Regions from separate parts of the Homo sapiens genome. Here region 1 is linked to region 2. Evidence: promoter capture Hi-C in human tissues and cell types (Jung and others, 2019). All regions are on one chromosome and are shown on one strand. The core of a region is centred on a gene start or on the middle of the fragment in contact, and the rest is flanking DNA. Distances in the headings are between cores, read along the strand shown. Region 1 overlaps CEROX1 (cytoplasmic endogenous regulator of oxidative phosphorylation 1). Region 2 holds the start of TRAF7 (TNF receptor associated factor 7).

What was found. The method cuts DNA at HindIII sites, captures the fragments that hold promoters and counts their contacts. A contact is called where the count stands out against the background at its distance.
Region 1: a fragment that was not itself captured here is called in contact with the fragment with the promoter of TRAF7 in region 2 in 1 of the 25 tissues and cell types used here (spleen).

What each region holds. Positions count from the first base shown.
Region 1 is chr16:973,383-979,693 of GRCh38, reverse strand. CEROX1 (cytoplasmic endogenous regulator of oxidative phosphorylation 1) reads left to right here. Exons shown (of 3, transcript NR_164343.1): 1 at 1-93; 2 at 584-669; 3 at 2,601-3,933. LOC124903620 (a long non-coding RNA gene) reads right to left here and starts at 5,625. Exons shown (of 2, transcript XR_007064935.1): 1 at 5,083-5,625; 2 at 3,936-4,353. It also overlaps a transcript of LMF1 not described here. The HindIII fragment of the contact is 3,125 bases long and covers 417-3,541 here.
Region 2 is chr16:2,150,140-2,157,258 of GRCh38, reverse strand. TRAF7 (TNF receptor associated factor 7) reads right to left here and starts at 1,477. Exons shown (of 21, transcript NM_032271.3): 1 at 1,401-1,477. SNHG19 (small nucleolar RNA host gene 19) reads left to right here and starts at 1,901. Exons shown (of 2, transcript NR_132114.1): 1 at 1,901-2,116; 2 at 2,337-2,477. SNORD60 (small nucleolar RNA, C/D box 60) reads left to right here and starts at 2,154; the gene lies at 2,154-2,236. RAB26 (RAB26, member RAS oncogene family) reads right to left here. Exons shown (of 9, transcript NM_014353.5): 3 at 5,649-5,690; 4 at 5,498-5,564; 5 at 5,351-5,403; 6 at 4,374-4,439; 7 at 4,214-4,270; 8 at 4,037-4,113; 9 at 3,094-3,940. The coding sequence ends at 3,838. RefSeq lists enhancers at 1-287, 288-869, 793-932, 943-1,042, 1,913-2,112 and 3 more and a silencer at 1,343-1,432. The HindIII fragment of the contact is 10,583 bases long and covers 1-7,119 here.

The sequences.
Region 1 (6,311 bases), core at 730-3,229, 1.2 Mb after region 2:
AAGAAAAGCAGTTGCATTAGGTCTGCGAGCAGGCAGGGTGGCCTCTTCCTGGCTCCCCATCCACCAAGGAAGCTTCAAGTCCCTGGGACACAGGTGGGGAACTCCAGCACCCCTGGAGGAAGGGAGACTGAGGTTGGGGAGTGGCATCCAGGCCCTGACTCTGGGGCACGGTGGTCTGTGCAACTGAGACCCTGCCTCAGGCTCCAACAGCGCCTGCTCCTTTCCCCAGGTTGCAGTGATCACCAGGGGAGGTGCTGGGCGTGCAGGCTGCCACAGGAGGGGTGGGGAGGTGGGGAGTCTCTGTGGCGGGGTGGTGGGGGCCTAGGCCAGTCAGCTGAGGACGTGTTGGTGCACTCCCGGGAGGGCGGTATGTGGGTGAGGATCCCCATGCAGAGTGGTGCCCACAAACCCCCCTTCCAGAGTCATCTCTGGTCCACCTTGAAGTCCCCAGGAAAATGACCTCGTCCTCCGCGGGTGTGAGCCACTAGGCCTGAGAGGACGCCGGGACGGAGCTTTCAGAGAGGGAGGTGTCGGGATGGCTTGAGGGTCACCAGGTATTAATTAAGCACTTGCTGTGTGCCAGGCACTTTCCCACACAGGATGGAGCCGGGCCACCCTCACAGCTCCTGCCCTGCAGACGCTGGCCTTGTGGAGGGAGGCAGGCAGCAGGTAACTCCAAAAGCACCTCTCAGAGGCGGGGACTTCAGGAAGGATGGTCTGGGAAAGCATCTTTGGTGTCATTTAAGCTGAGCCCTGAAGCTTCTGATCTCCTGCAGGGAGAGGCCAGCGTGTTCCCTGGGGAAGCTAGAGCAGAGTGTCTGATGACAAGAGATGGACCCGGGGGTGGAGAGTGGAGGGGCAGCCATCAGAGCCACCTCTGAGTCCACCTGATGGGCCCATGTCTTCATCCAGGGGGGAGCTGCACACACACCCTCCTCCCCTGTCTCCCATCCCTGCCCCACCCCTTCAGCTGGGGCCTGCTCCGCCGTGTCTGCATGGCCCCACCCACCCTGACCTCACCACCTGCTAGTGGGCCTTGCAGTTTCAGGGGGAGTGTACGTTTCAAGTATACCCTGATGGGGGAATCTGGACCAGGGCTGTCCCCTGGGCCGTGAGTGCCGGGCGTGGAGAGCTGGTGTAGATGACATTTGTAGCTCCACATGCCCTGGCCTGGGCGCCAAGGACAGCCGCAGAGAAGAATGTGGGTGGACAGGCTCTGCTGCCCATGAGATGGTGCAGGGATGGCCTGGGGGATGCTTCCAGATGAGAGACCACCCCACCCTACCCGTGGCTCCTAGGGATGGCGACCCCGGAGGCGCGTGTGTTCATGTGTGTGTGTGGTGTGTGTTTGTATGGTATGTAATGTGTGATATGTGTATGGGATGTATGTATGGGGTGTGTTTATGGTGTGTGTGGTGCGTGTATAGTGTGTATGGTGCGTGTATAGTGCGTATGGTGTGTATGGTGTGTGGTGTGTATGTGTATGATGTGTGTGATGTATGTGTGTGGGGTGCGTGTATGGTGTGTGGTGTGTGTGTGTGTGTATGATGTATGTGTGTGGTGTGGTGTGTGTATGGTGTGTGGTGTGTGTGTGTCCGTGTGTGTTTGGTGTGGTGTATGTGTGCAGGGTGTGGGTGTGTTTGTGTGTGTGTGATGTGTGGTGTGCGTGTGTATGATGTGTGTGTGTGGTGTGTGTGTGTGCGTGTATGTGTGTGGTGGGGTGTGTGTATGGTGTGTGGTGTGTGTGCGTGTGTATGATGTATGTGTGTGGTATGTGTGTGGTGTGTGTGTTTAGTGTGTGGTGTATGTGTGCAGGGTGTGGGTGTGTTTGTGATGTGTGGTGTGCATGTGTATGGTGTGTGTGTGTGTGTGGTGTGTGTTGGGCCCAGGGCACGAGGAGGAAGCAGGGCTGCCCAGGGAAATGCCACCCTGGAGAGGCCCCTGTCCCTCCCTCTCCGTCCTTCCCTGTGCCCCTCCGTCCCTCCCTGCCCGTCCTCCCCGTCCCCCTCCATCCACCCCCAACCCGGCCCTCCTCCTGCGGCAGGCAGCCCATCTTTTGTGCGGCCTCTGAGAAGCACAGGGAGGGCCCGGCGGGCGTGAACCCGCTGGCAGCCGGTGTGTGCACAGCCTTGGCCCGGGCCTCCCAGCCCCTGCATCCCGAGCACCCGTGGGGCAGTTGGCAGCGTCCTGGCACGGCCTGGGAGATTAATTGGTGCTTTTAATGACGGCTGGTCTGGCAGAGACAGAGTGACTACAGGCTGGGCCGGCGCAGGCTGTGAGCAGAGGCTGGGAAAGGCCCCGCCCCCGGACGGGTCTCCAGGGGAGAGGAGGGGTTCGCAGGACCCCTCTCAAGACCCCCTTCGGGAGTCAGCTTCTTGGCCACGCACACTTGGAGCTCTGGGCTGGGTTGCAGCTCCCTGTACTTCACTGTCTCGGGTGCTGGCAGTGCCAGCTGGGGCACGAGTTCCGGTTTGGGTCAAGGCTGGCCTGTTGGCTGGGGTGGCGTCTGCCTGAGAACTGGCCTTGTCTGTGCCTTAAGCTTCCTGGCGCTCACAGGGCAGTGGAAAACCACTCAGTGAGTCTTTCTTGGCACCTTGCAGGAGCAGTGCTTTCTGGGCCTCTGTAGCCAGAGCTGGCCCTGCTGCAGCTTACGTCTGCCTGCAGCCCAGACGTCCTCCTGGTCCTCCTGATGCCCCCGACCTCCACGGAGGACGAGCATTTCCAGCCCAGCCCTCCCCATCTTCACCTCGCACTCCCCTGACACACTGGGAGCCTCCTGATCCGTGAACCCGCGCTGGCGGGAGTAGCTACTGACCGCTGGGGACCCCTGCCCAGGCTGTTCGCATGTGGAAAGGATTCAGGGAGCAGGCGATGCCCAAAGCGTGGAGACCAGCACTGCTCTCTCCCCAGTGACAGGTGCACGCCCAGATCACGGATGTGTCGGGAACAGCTGTGCTCCTGCTGCTCAGCGTCCGTCACTCCAGGCTGGGAGCGGGTCCCCAAGCTTCTGGCTGGGCCTATCCGTCTCCACTCTCAGTGTGGGGGTGGGGGGCGCCAACAGCACGCATTTGCTCTCTGCACTTCTCGTCTGATAATGGGCAGAGGGTCCTTCTGCAGCCCCAAAACATCCCTAGGCAGGAGCCCTGGGGCCCCAAGCAGCCAGGGAGGTGAGCACCAAGGACCTCCCAGAGAGCGTCACCTTCCGTCGAGGGAGGCCCAGCCTGGGGGCGGTGTCTGAGACTTGGAATCAACGCTTCCGTTGGTGGCAGTAAATCCTGTCCCTAACCCTGCAGTACAGCTGTGCCGTGTACAGGAGGGTGCTGTCTGACGCCAGACACCTGGACTACAGATCGCAGCCTGATTCCTGGTCATTGCTCCACTGAACCCCAGACCCCAGCCTCGTTCTGGGCCCTCATCCCCTAGATCCAGGGACCCCAGCCCCATTTCAGCCCTTGGGCCCTTGTAGGATGCGAGGCCCTGGGCCCCAGCCCCCAGCCCATCCGTGGCCCAGGCACTGGGGGGCTGAGGTCCTCTGAGAAGGGACACAGGGCCTGGGGGGCTCTCTCAGCCCATCAGCAGGAGAGGACTGACTCCAGAAAAATCAGCGTTTGTACCCACTCAGGCTGCCAAGACCTGTGTCCGTCCTTCCAAGCTCAACCTTCAGAGTTCATGAGGCCCCTTGCCCAGAATGTCCACAGAGTTCATGAGGCCCCTTGCCCGGAATGTCCACATTTGAAACCTCCCAACACCGAGCCCCATTTCAAGTATAACCAGGAGGGAAAATGGTGCTTGAAATAAGCATGCCACAAAGGAAAACCTGCTTTCTCGAAATGGGCCCTGGCCGCCCAGGCCCTGACCTCCCCGGCCAGGATGGAACGTTCCAGAGACCCATTAGTGCCAAAGGCAAATGAAAACACACCCTGTGAAAATGTCTCTGCTGTCTCCCAAGTATTTATTTTTCTGAGCGTGGGGAAGGAAGGCTTAATTAAGATGCCCTCAGGCGGGTACGAGGGGCAAAGTGGGAGCAGGGAGCGTGCTTCCTCTGTGGCCTTGGTTCAGACAACAGCCTTCAGCAAAGCTTTGCTCTAGAGGCTCATAGGAAGGGACAGAGGGCACAGGCCCAGCTCAGCCTTTCCCCTGCCTTTCTTGGGGCCTGGGCATGGACAGCACCGCCTGGCGACACACAACGGTGGGCTCTGAGGCTGTTTGTTACGCAGCATTAATGTGGCCGTCGGTGACCGCTACACGGTGACTGATAACTGCACTGTGGGTAGAGCTCAGCCCGCAGGGCTCTGGTTTGTGACCTCTGGGCCAGGCAACTCTCAAGGCTTCTTCCAGTGCAGAATATGATTCCTAGAGAAAAAAAAAAAATTACACATTCGTTTCCTAACATAGGGCCCTGCAACCGGAGAACACCACCACATTGGGAGCTGTGCTTTCCACTGTCTAGAAACCATGGCTTGCCAGCTTGCAGGGTCACATGGAGCCGCATCTCCTTCTGGGGTGCAGGGGTGGGAACACTCGTGACCTGTAGCCGAGGGTGCAGGGAGAGGACAGGGTGAGCCAAGCAGAACAGCCGTCTGTGAGTCATCGTCCCAGGACAACCAGCAAATGGCACAACACCTGCTCTCTCAGCCCCCACCCGCACCTGCCAGCCTCACGTGGGGGGTGGGGGGGTTGGCCGCTGGACAGTCACAGCAGGATCTGCCCAAACTGACCACCCTTCCAGGAGGAGGCAACAGATGTTAGCATCCACGGGTCCTGGGCCCCCCTTCCATACCCAGACTTCAGGACATGAAAAATTGGGGTAAATGAAGGGTGCACGATTATCTTCGGGCCCACACTGGCTTCCTGCGGGTGCCAGAGACAGCTGCCACCGCATGCCAGGGACAATGGCCCCGAGGAGGCGGGAGCTGCCAGGCCGGGGTGCTGGGGGACAGCTGGACGAGGTGCCGACAGGGGCTCATTCCTCCCTGAAGCCGGCCCGCAGCTGCTGGGAGCGTGGCCAGCCACGGGCTTGTGTGTGCCTGGGTCCTGGGGGCTGTGCTGGCGCAGGCCGGGACGGCGGGGACAGGGTCCCACCTAGGGCAGGCTGGTCGGTCTCCGGGGAGGCAGCCCAGTCTTCAGCCTGCGTGCTCTTGGGGTGTCCGTCCCTTCCTCCCCATTCTCCTCCTCTTCTCAGCGTCTTCTCCCCCAGCACCGGGCAGCCCTGGGGTGGCCGAGCCTCATCTCCACTCCCCTCCCTCAGGCCTCTCCTGGGTCAGCCTGGCTTTTTCTCTTAGAGTTTTTGCTTGACAGGGCACTCTCAGGACGCCCTCCTCCTCCTCCCGCCTCGGGTTGGTGTGAGGCGCTCAGGGCAGGGCCCACGTGCCTGTGGTCACAGGACACTGAGCTGCAGGGTGAAAGGACCACACCTGGCCGATCTCCCGGCCGCTGCAGCTCACTCTGGGTTTGCAGAGAAGCCTGTTTTTAAGTGAAGTGCCTTCTTAGAGAATAAGACACACCTGTATCTAAATGTTATTTTTAAACTGCTAGATGCGCCTTAATATAGACAAAGAAGTAAGGTGAGCGTAAATGACATGATGTATTCCGACAGGTGACAGCGCCTTCCGGGCGATTCTGAAACACCAGTGCAGGGCTGTCTGTTGTCTTTTGTTTTCATTTTACTTTTTTTTTTTTTTTTTGAGACAGAGTCTCGCTCTGTCGCCCAGGCTGGAGGGCAGTGGCACGATCTCGGCTCACTGCAAGCTCCAGCCCCCGCGTTCACGTCATTCTCCTGCCTCAGCCTCCCGAGTAGCTGGGACTACAGGCGCCCGCCACCATGCCCGGCTAATTTTGTTGTTGTTGTTGTATTTTTAGTAGAGACGGGGTTTCACCGTGTTAGCCAGGATGGTCTCGATCTCCTGACCTCGTGATCCACCCGCCTCGGCCTCCCAAAGTGCTGGGATTACAGGCGTGAGCCCCGGTGCCCGGCCTCATTTTACTTTTCTAAAATTCGAGGCGAAATTCACATAGCATGAAATAAGCCATTTGCCAGTGAACGACTCGGTGTTTAGCACCTCACAGTGCTGGGCAGCCATCGCCTAGTTCCAGAAGATTCTCATCAGCCCAAAAGAAAACGTCCTACCCCCGGACCACTGGCTCCCCACTCCCCGTCCCCAGACCTGGACCACAGAGCTCCCTCCTTTCCCCGTGGCTTTGCCCACCCCGGACATTTCATGTAAATGGGCTCACGCAACTCATGACCTCCGCGTCTGTCCTGTCCCACTGAGCTTGATGTTCTGAGGTTCATCTGTGTTGTAGCACGTGTC
Region 2 (7,119 bases), core at 228-2,727:
TCCACAGAGAACTATGAATGCCCAGAACAGTGAAGTCAGGATATTCGCAACAGAGAGGCACAGGGAAGGGGTCTAGGAAGGGAGAGGCCCAAAGAGAAGGAATGAGGAAGAGGGAGGCTCCTCACTTGGCGAGGGCTAGGGGGCCTGTGTGTGCCCAGGAAGGGGTCTGAGGGGTAGTGAGAAAGGTGGGCAGACAGGCTGGGCGGCATGAAATTCCTGAGCAAGCCAGCAGCCCCTCACCCCCAAGAGCAGGGTGGGCTCCAGCAGGCCCCTGCCCCTGGACTCCAGACTCAACCCCAGCTGACCACTCTGGCCTGGCTCAAGACAACCGTATCTTGACAGCAGGACCCCAGTGGGGACTAGGAGACGATGGCCTAGCCTCCCTCTCTCCTGCTTCCCCAGTGAACTCTGAAGTCTGTGGTCCACACACAGTTAGAAAGCTCTTTACTGGACCTAGATCGGACCGCCTCTCCAGCGCTTCCTCAACCCCAAGTCATTTGCCAGCATAATAACCCCCCCGCCCCACCCCACCATGCACCCTGTGAGCCTGGTCCGGCCTCATCGACTTCACCTCTCCACTTGCCAGTGCTTGCTGGGGTGCGTCAGGCCCCTTCTCACCCCAGGCCTATGTACATCTGGCTCTTTCTACTTGGAATGCTCCTCCTGCATGTCCTGGGACTGGCTGCTTCTCCAACAGGCCTTTGGCTAACGGTAGCGCCGCCCCTACCCCCGGCCAGTACTCACTTTTTCAGCACCCTCTTTCTTTCTTTCACAGCACATACCGCTGCTCCCCATGATTTTAACTACCTATTGTCAATCCCACCACCCTGTCTGTCTAGATGGGGGATGGGGGGAGTTGTTCCGCAGGAGGCATTTGCCAATGCATGGAGACATTTGTTATCGCAATTGAGGAAGGGGTGGTGTTTACTGGTATCTAGCGGCCAGGAGCCAGGCAAGCTGTTCCACATCCTACAATGTACAGGGCAGCTCCTCGCAGCAAAAAGCGACCCGGGCCGCGTGGTCGATGGTGCGGAGGTTGGGGAACCCTGCAGCAGACGCCGAGCACAGGAGAACTGGGACCGTGTTCTCCGCGGTCTCCCGGCGCCCAGAACAGTGCCTGGCACCCGGGAGTCTCGGGGAATGCAGGAAGAAGGAATGAGTAAAGAACTGCGCGAGAACAGGACGGAGCGAGGGACGGACTACTGACTGGCGGACGGACAGCGACGCGGACCCCGACCCTGACCCCGACCCCGACCGTCTCAGCCCCGCCCCCCCCTCCCCGCCCCGGCCCGACCCCTCGCCTCGCCTCGCCTCGCCTCGATCTCCACGCGCCCGATCCCGCCCCACCGCGCGGTCCCGAGGCGCGAGCCCCGGGTCGGGCGCGCCGCGGGGACACTCACCCGCCCGCGGCCGCCCGGGAGCGGCAGCGCCGCCAGCCCGCTTCATGATGCCCCCTCGGCCGCCGGCCGGGAAAGGGACTAGACGCGCGAGCCGGAAGCGCCAGGCCGCTGCGCCCGCCGGGACGTGTAGTTCCCCGCCTCTCCGGGCCCGGACGGCTGCCTCACGCGCCGCACTTCCGAAACTACGACTTCCGGCGGCCTCGTCGTCGCGGGGCGGGAATGGCAGCTTCAGAATCACTCTATGTTGCAGATCGAAGTCTGATTGGCTTTGTTCATCCGTCACTCACCGTTAGGCTTCACGGACTCTGCATAAGGGAGGAGCTTCGGGTCTGGGTCTGAGAGACCGTCTCCAAAAGAAATGCCACGGTACGATTGGTGGAAACAACGCGGCAGGGAGCGGAGCGTACCAGCGGCGGGGGAAGGCGGGCACTTCCGCCAGGATAGCCCAATGACAGAGGTGGGACAGTTTCTATAAAAGCTTGAGCCTCGCCCGCCCCTGTCTTTTCGGGGTCGAGTCCGAGGGGGAAGAGGTTTGTTAATACGTTCGCCATGTGCTACGATCTTGGGACGAACTGAGCCACGAGCGTGGCTTTGAGGGCCGTCCGAACGCTGCAGGCCGGCCAGGTCCCTGGGCGTCCAGGCCTGGCCTACGCACCACTTTGTCCCTTAGCGTTTAAAGGTTTCTTCCCGAATCTCAGGCCCTCAGCTACCTGCAGGTAAGACTGGGCCGGGCTTGGGTTCCCTTATTCTCCCAGTCTGTGATGAATTGCTTTGACTTCTGACACCTCGTATGAAAACTGCACGTGCAGTCTGATTATTTAGCAAGACTGAGGCTTGAGGGTGCGCACTCCTGACGGGGAGCTGAGAGTGGAAACAGGTGTTGCCCGAAACGAAGGAGTGGGGACTTAATGTCTGTATTTTGGCGCTGACTTTCAGGTTTCGTCGCGAGCCGGCTGCAAGTTTTGAACCTAAGTAAACCTCAATCCGGAGGGCCTAGCGGTAAGGTGGGCGCTGTGTCTATTGAAGTGCTTAGCAATAAAGAAAGGTAGTGAGTTGATTCGGTTTTCTCTCAAGTGTCTTTATTTTCCTATTCTGGCACCCCAGAGGTCTGGCTGATCCACAGGCAATCTTGGAAAAGGGTACAGACATGAAAACGGAAGCTCGTTACCAGTGACTTTTCATCTCTTGGGATTGCCTTCTCCATTTCTGCCCGTGATTTTTTTTTTTTTTTTTTGAGACGGAGTTTTGCTCGTTTCCCAGGCGGGAGTGCGATGGCACAACCTCCACCTCAAGCGATTTTCCTGCCTGAGCCTCCCAAATGGCTGGAATTACAGGCGCCCACCACCACGCCCGGCTAATTTTGTATTTTTAGTAGAGACGGGGTTTCTCCGTGTTAGGCTGGTCTCAAACTCCTGACCTCAGGTGATCTGCCCACCTCAGCCTCCCAAAGTGCTGGGATCACAGGTGTGAGCCACCACGCCCAGTCAAATACTGTTTTTCATGCCTTTTGCCCCAGGGTGAGTCCAAAAAGGCTTTTGAGATTTGTGGAGGGAAGTTGACACCACCTAGGGTTCCCATGTGCCTCCTTAGGGAGGCAGCCATGGGCCATGGAGGAATGGTAGCCACACACCTGCTGAGGGTTCTGGGCCTTGCTGAGTCTCTCAAACTCCAGCATCCTGCTCTAGAAGTGGATTTTTTTCAACAGATGAGACAGACGCTCCAGAAAACACAACTTTATTCACTAGGACTGAAAACAAAGGCTTGTGCAATCAAAAGGCCAAGTTGAGTGCAAGGTGGAGCGTGCTCGGAAATCACAGACCTCACCTGTGGCCAGGCCGGGCTGGCAGTTGTTGTTTCTGGTGTTTTCTGTGATTTCCCACATTTTATCACAAGGCCACAGGCATCCTCCAAGGTCAGTGAGGAAGACCCTATTGCTGTTTGAGCCAGAGCCTCCTAGAGGGTGGGCCGGGAGCAGGCAGCTCCCAGGACACACAGATGCACGATGTGATTAGCAGTGAAGCCTTCTGTCCCAGGCGTGGGCAGGCGTCCTCCCTTAGCTGCCTGAGCATGTGCGGCTGAAGACATGGCTTTTCTAGGGTTAGGCACTGTGCGTGGTGCCAGCCCCAGCCCTCCCTCACCTGGACGTGCCCAGGAGGGGGCAGCAGAGCACCGTGGCAAAGTCTGTCCACTTGCCGCTCCCCGTCCCGTGCAGAAGACTGCTTTTCCGTGGCGGCCAGTGTGCGGCCACGGGCTCTCAGAAGCCTGCTTGTTGGGACTGTTGCTGGGAGGAGGAAGGGACAAGGCTTGACCTGGGGCTCCTGAAAACAGACACTCGGGCGTTGGCCACTGGGCAACAAAGTCAGAAGGGCCTGGAGACCCTCTGTCCAGCCTTCTAGGGACTGGACGGCTTCCTCCAGAGGACTGAGCTCAGCCAGGTTCAAGGGCGGCAGCAGGAGGCCCCTCGACCCTCCCTCTTAACGTAATCATGCAGCCGGAAGCGCGGCTCGCTGGGAGCCTTCATGGAGCGCTGCTTCAACTCCCTGCGGAGTGGGGGTGACAAGGGGACACGATGGCCTGGACTCTAATGAGGATTCAGGCCCTGGGCTGGGGGAGTCCTGGTGACTGGCAGGACTTACTTTGCTATGGCTGTGAAGGCCAAGTCCACGTTGAGGCCCGTCTTGGCGCTGGTCTCCATGAAGGGCAGTCCATACTCCTGTAAACAGCTGCTGCCAGCCAGGTGGTGGCCTGGCGGGGACAGCCTAGGCTCGCAGCCTCCAGGGGCACCCCCTCACCACCCCCCTGCCCTGACTCACCTTGGCCAGCTTCTCCCCGTCCTCCCTCTTCACCACACGCTCATGGGCAGAGTCCACCTGGCCCAGGCACAGGGTCTTGGTGAAAGCTGGCCCATGGTTGGCCCCTGCCCCCTCACCTGCCCTGCCCTGTGGCCCAGGTGAGGACAGCCGGGCCTCCCACCTTGTTCCCCAGCAGCATGAGCGCCACGTCGTGCTGGGCGTACTCGTGGATCTCGGTCAGCCAGGCCTGTGGGAGGCAGCAGACCAGGCTGGGGCTCCCTGCATGGCTTGCCCCATGCCCCAGAACTTTGGCCCTCCAGGTCACACTGTAGAGGGCACCTGTCTTTATCTTTTTTTTTTTTTTTTTTTTTTTGAGACAAGAGTCTCGCCCTGTTTCCCAGGCTGGAGTGCAATGGCTCCATCTCGACTCACTGCAGTCTCCATCTCCTGGGTTCAAGCTATTCTCCTGGGGTTCAGAGAACCTTGGGAGGGTTCAGCCTCCCAAGTGACTGGGATTACAGTTACGCACCACCACGCCCAGCTAATTTTTTGTATCTTTAGTAGAGACGGGGTTTCACCATGTTGATCAGGCTGGTCTCCAACTCCTGACCTCGTGATCCGCCCACCTCAGCCTCCCAAGGTGGTGGGATTACAGGTGTGAGCCACCATGCCCAGCCCATTTTATTTTTTTGAGACAGTTTTGCTCTGTTGTCCAGGCTGGAGTGCCGTAGCACAGTCTTGGCTCACTGCAACCTCAGTCTCCTGAGTAGCTGGGATTACAGGTGTGTGCCAAAACGCCCGGCTAATTTTTGTATTTTTAGTAGAGATGGGGTTTCCTCATGTTGGCCAGGCTGGTCTCGAACTCCTGACCTCAGGTGAGCCGCCATGCCTGGCCAGGATACCTGTCTTTAGAAGTGATAACCCCCCGTGTACCACATACAGAAGCCCACCTTACAGGTCCCTTACACAAAGCCTCCTGCTGAGGGAGCTGGAATGGCACTCAGGTCCACTTGGGCCACCTCCAGCCCAGAAGGCTGTCATTTCCCCCTCCCCTCTCTCAGCGGGGTCCTTTGGAACCCTGATGCCATCTACCAGAAGGAGGTTGGGATGGGTCAGGCCCTATCAGGGCCCTTTCACCCCACCAGGAAAGCCACTGACCTGGATGTTGTCAAAGGAGGCCTTGTTGGTGACATCGTAGAGCAGCAGCAGAGCTGGGGACAGAGGGCAGTGAGGACATCCACCATCACCTGCACCCTCAGGTGCTCAGACCCCCGCCCCAACCAGCCCAGGTACCCAGGGGCTCACCATGAGCATCCCGGTAGTAGGCATGGGTAACACTGCGGAACCGCTCCTGACCAGCTGTGTCCCACATCTGCAGCGACAGGCACTGGTCAGGCTGTCCAGCCCTTCCCTGGTGTCCCCTGTCCCCCAACTTGTCCTCTGCCAGTCACCTTACCTGCAGCTTCACCTTCACACCATCCACGTCCAGAACTTTGTTCTGAAACAGACAGAACCAGGCAGCTCTGGCATGGGCCCAGCCCAGCCTCTGGTCCCACTAGCTTCACTGCCTTCCTGTCCCCTGAGACCTCCCAGCTCCCAGGTCCAGCCCAGCCCCTGCAGGCTTCCCTTAAGCCAATTTGACCTCACCCACACCTGCAAGTGCAGGCCTCTCCCGGCAGCCTCTGCACTATTCCTGCTTAGAGCCTCTTACGCTGACTTATTTGAACTCATGACCCCACCAGGCCTCTTACTGACACTGCCTCGGTTTCCTCATCTGCAAATGGGTGCAGTAACTAACGAGCTGCAACGCCTCAGCCTTCCCAGTAGCTCTTTTTGCTAATTTGAAAGACTCAGGATGGCTTGAACCCAGAAGTTGGAGGTTGCAGTCCACCATGATCACCACTGCACTCCAGCCAGGGCGACAGAGTGAGACCCTGCTTCAAAAGAATAAAAAATTAAAGCCACTCCTTGCTGGGATTGTCAGGGCTGGGCCTGGGCCTGTCTGACCCAAGGCAGTAACCGCAGATCCCAGAACTGCCTGGCAGCGTCCCCAGCCGGGCCCTCCCAGTTAACGATTAGACGTAAGGCAGGGAGTGGTCTAGCCCCAGTCCCATCTGTTGGGGTGGGGGCGGGGGGCTTCAGCCGCAGTCTGAGGCCCTGGGCAGCTGGAACCTGTGCCACCTCCTTCAGCCTGAGCTCCTGCTGTCAGAGTGCTTCTGGGTCTCCCGGGAACCAGGCAGGGCCATCTGCTGGGCTGGGGAGGACACCGCCTTCCCTGGCACCCTGAACGAGAGTGCGAACCAAATGGCCTCACCTCTTACCACCTGCCCGAGAGCCAAGAGGGAGGTGGGGAAGTGGGGACCAGACAGGACTGGCCTGCCCCCCTCGGGCACTTCAGTCGTCACTCCATCCCAGAGGACTTGAGGGGACTTGGAACCCCCAGACTGGAGGGAGCCCCTTTTCCTGTCCCTGGAACAGCCCTTCCTCCATCCTCCCTCTAACTGGCTCTAATTAAAGGGTGAGAAAAATGCAAATTTAAGATTTGCTGAGGACAAGCCGGCACCTCAGCACGAGGAATTCCAGCTGGTGGGGGTGGGGGTGGGCGCTCCTCACCCAAGAGCAGGGTCCTCTCCCCTAGGCAAGCCCTGGAAACCCTCGCTCAGGCTCTGCAGGGAGCATGTGCTTCTAGGGCCCAGTAAGGCCTCTGTACCGAGGCAGCACTGCTGGCCCCAAGTGGACGTGGCCCTTGACTTCCTCTGACCCACCACCCTGTAGGCAACAGTGTCCGCCTCCCCCAAGGCACAGGATATGGTCCCTCGGTAATGCCAGCCCCTGGCATAGGGCAACTAACTATGCTTGTCGGGTGCAGCCACCAGCCCAGGTGTTGGAAGGTCGAGGCAGGCAGCTTCTGGGGTCCAGGCCTCGAG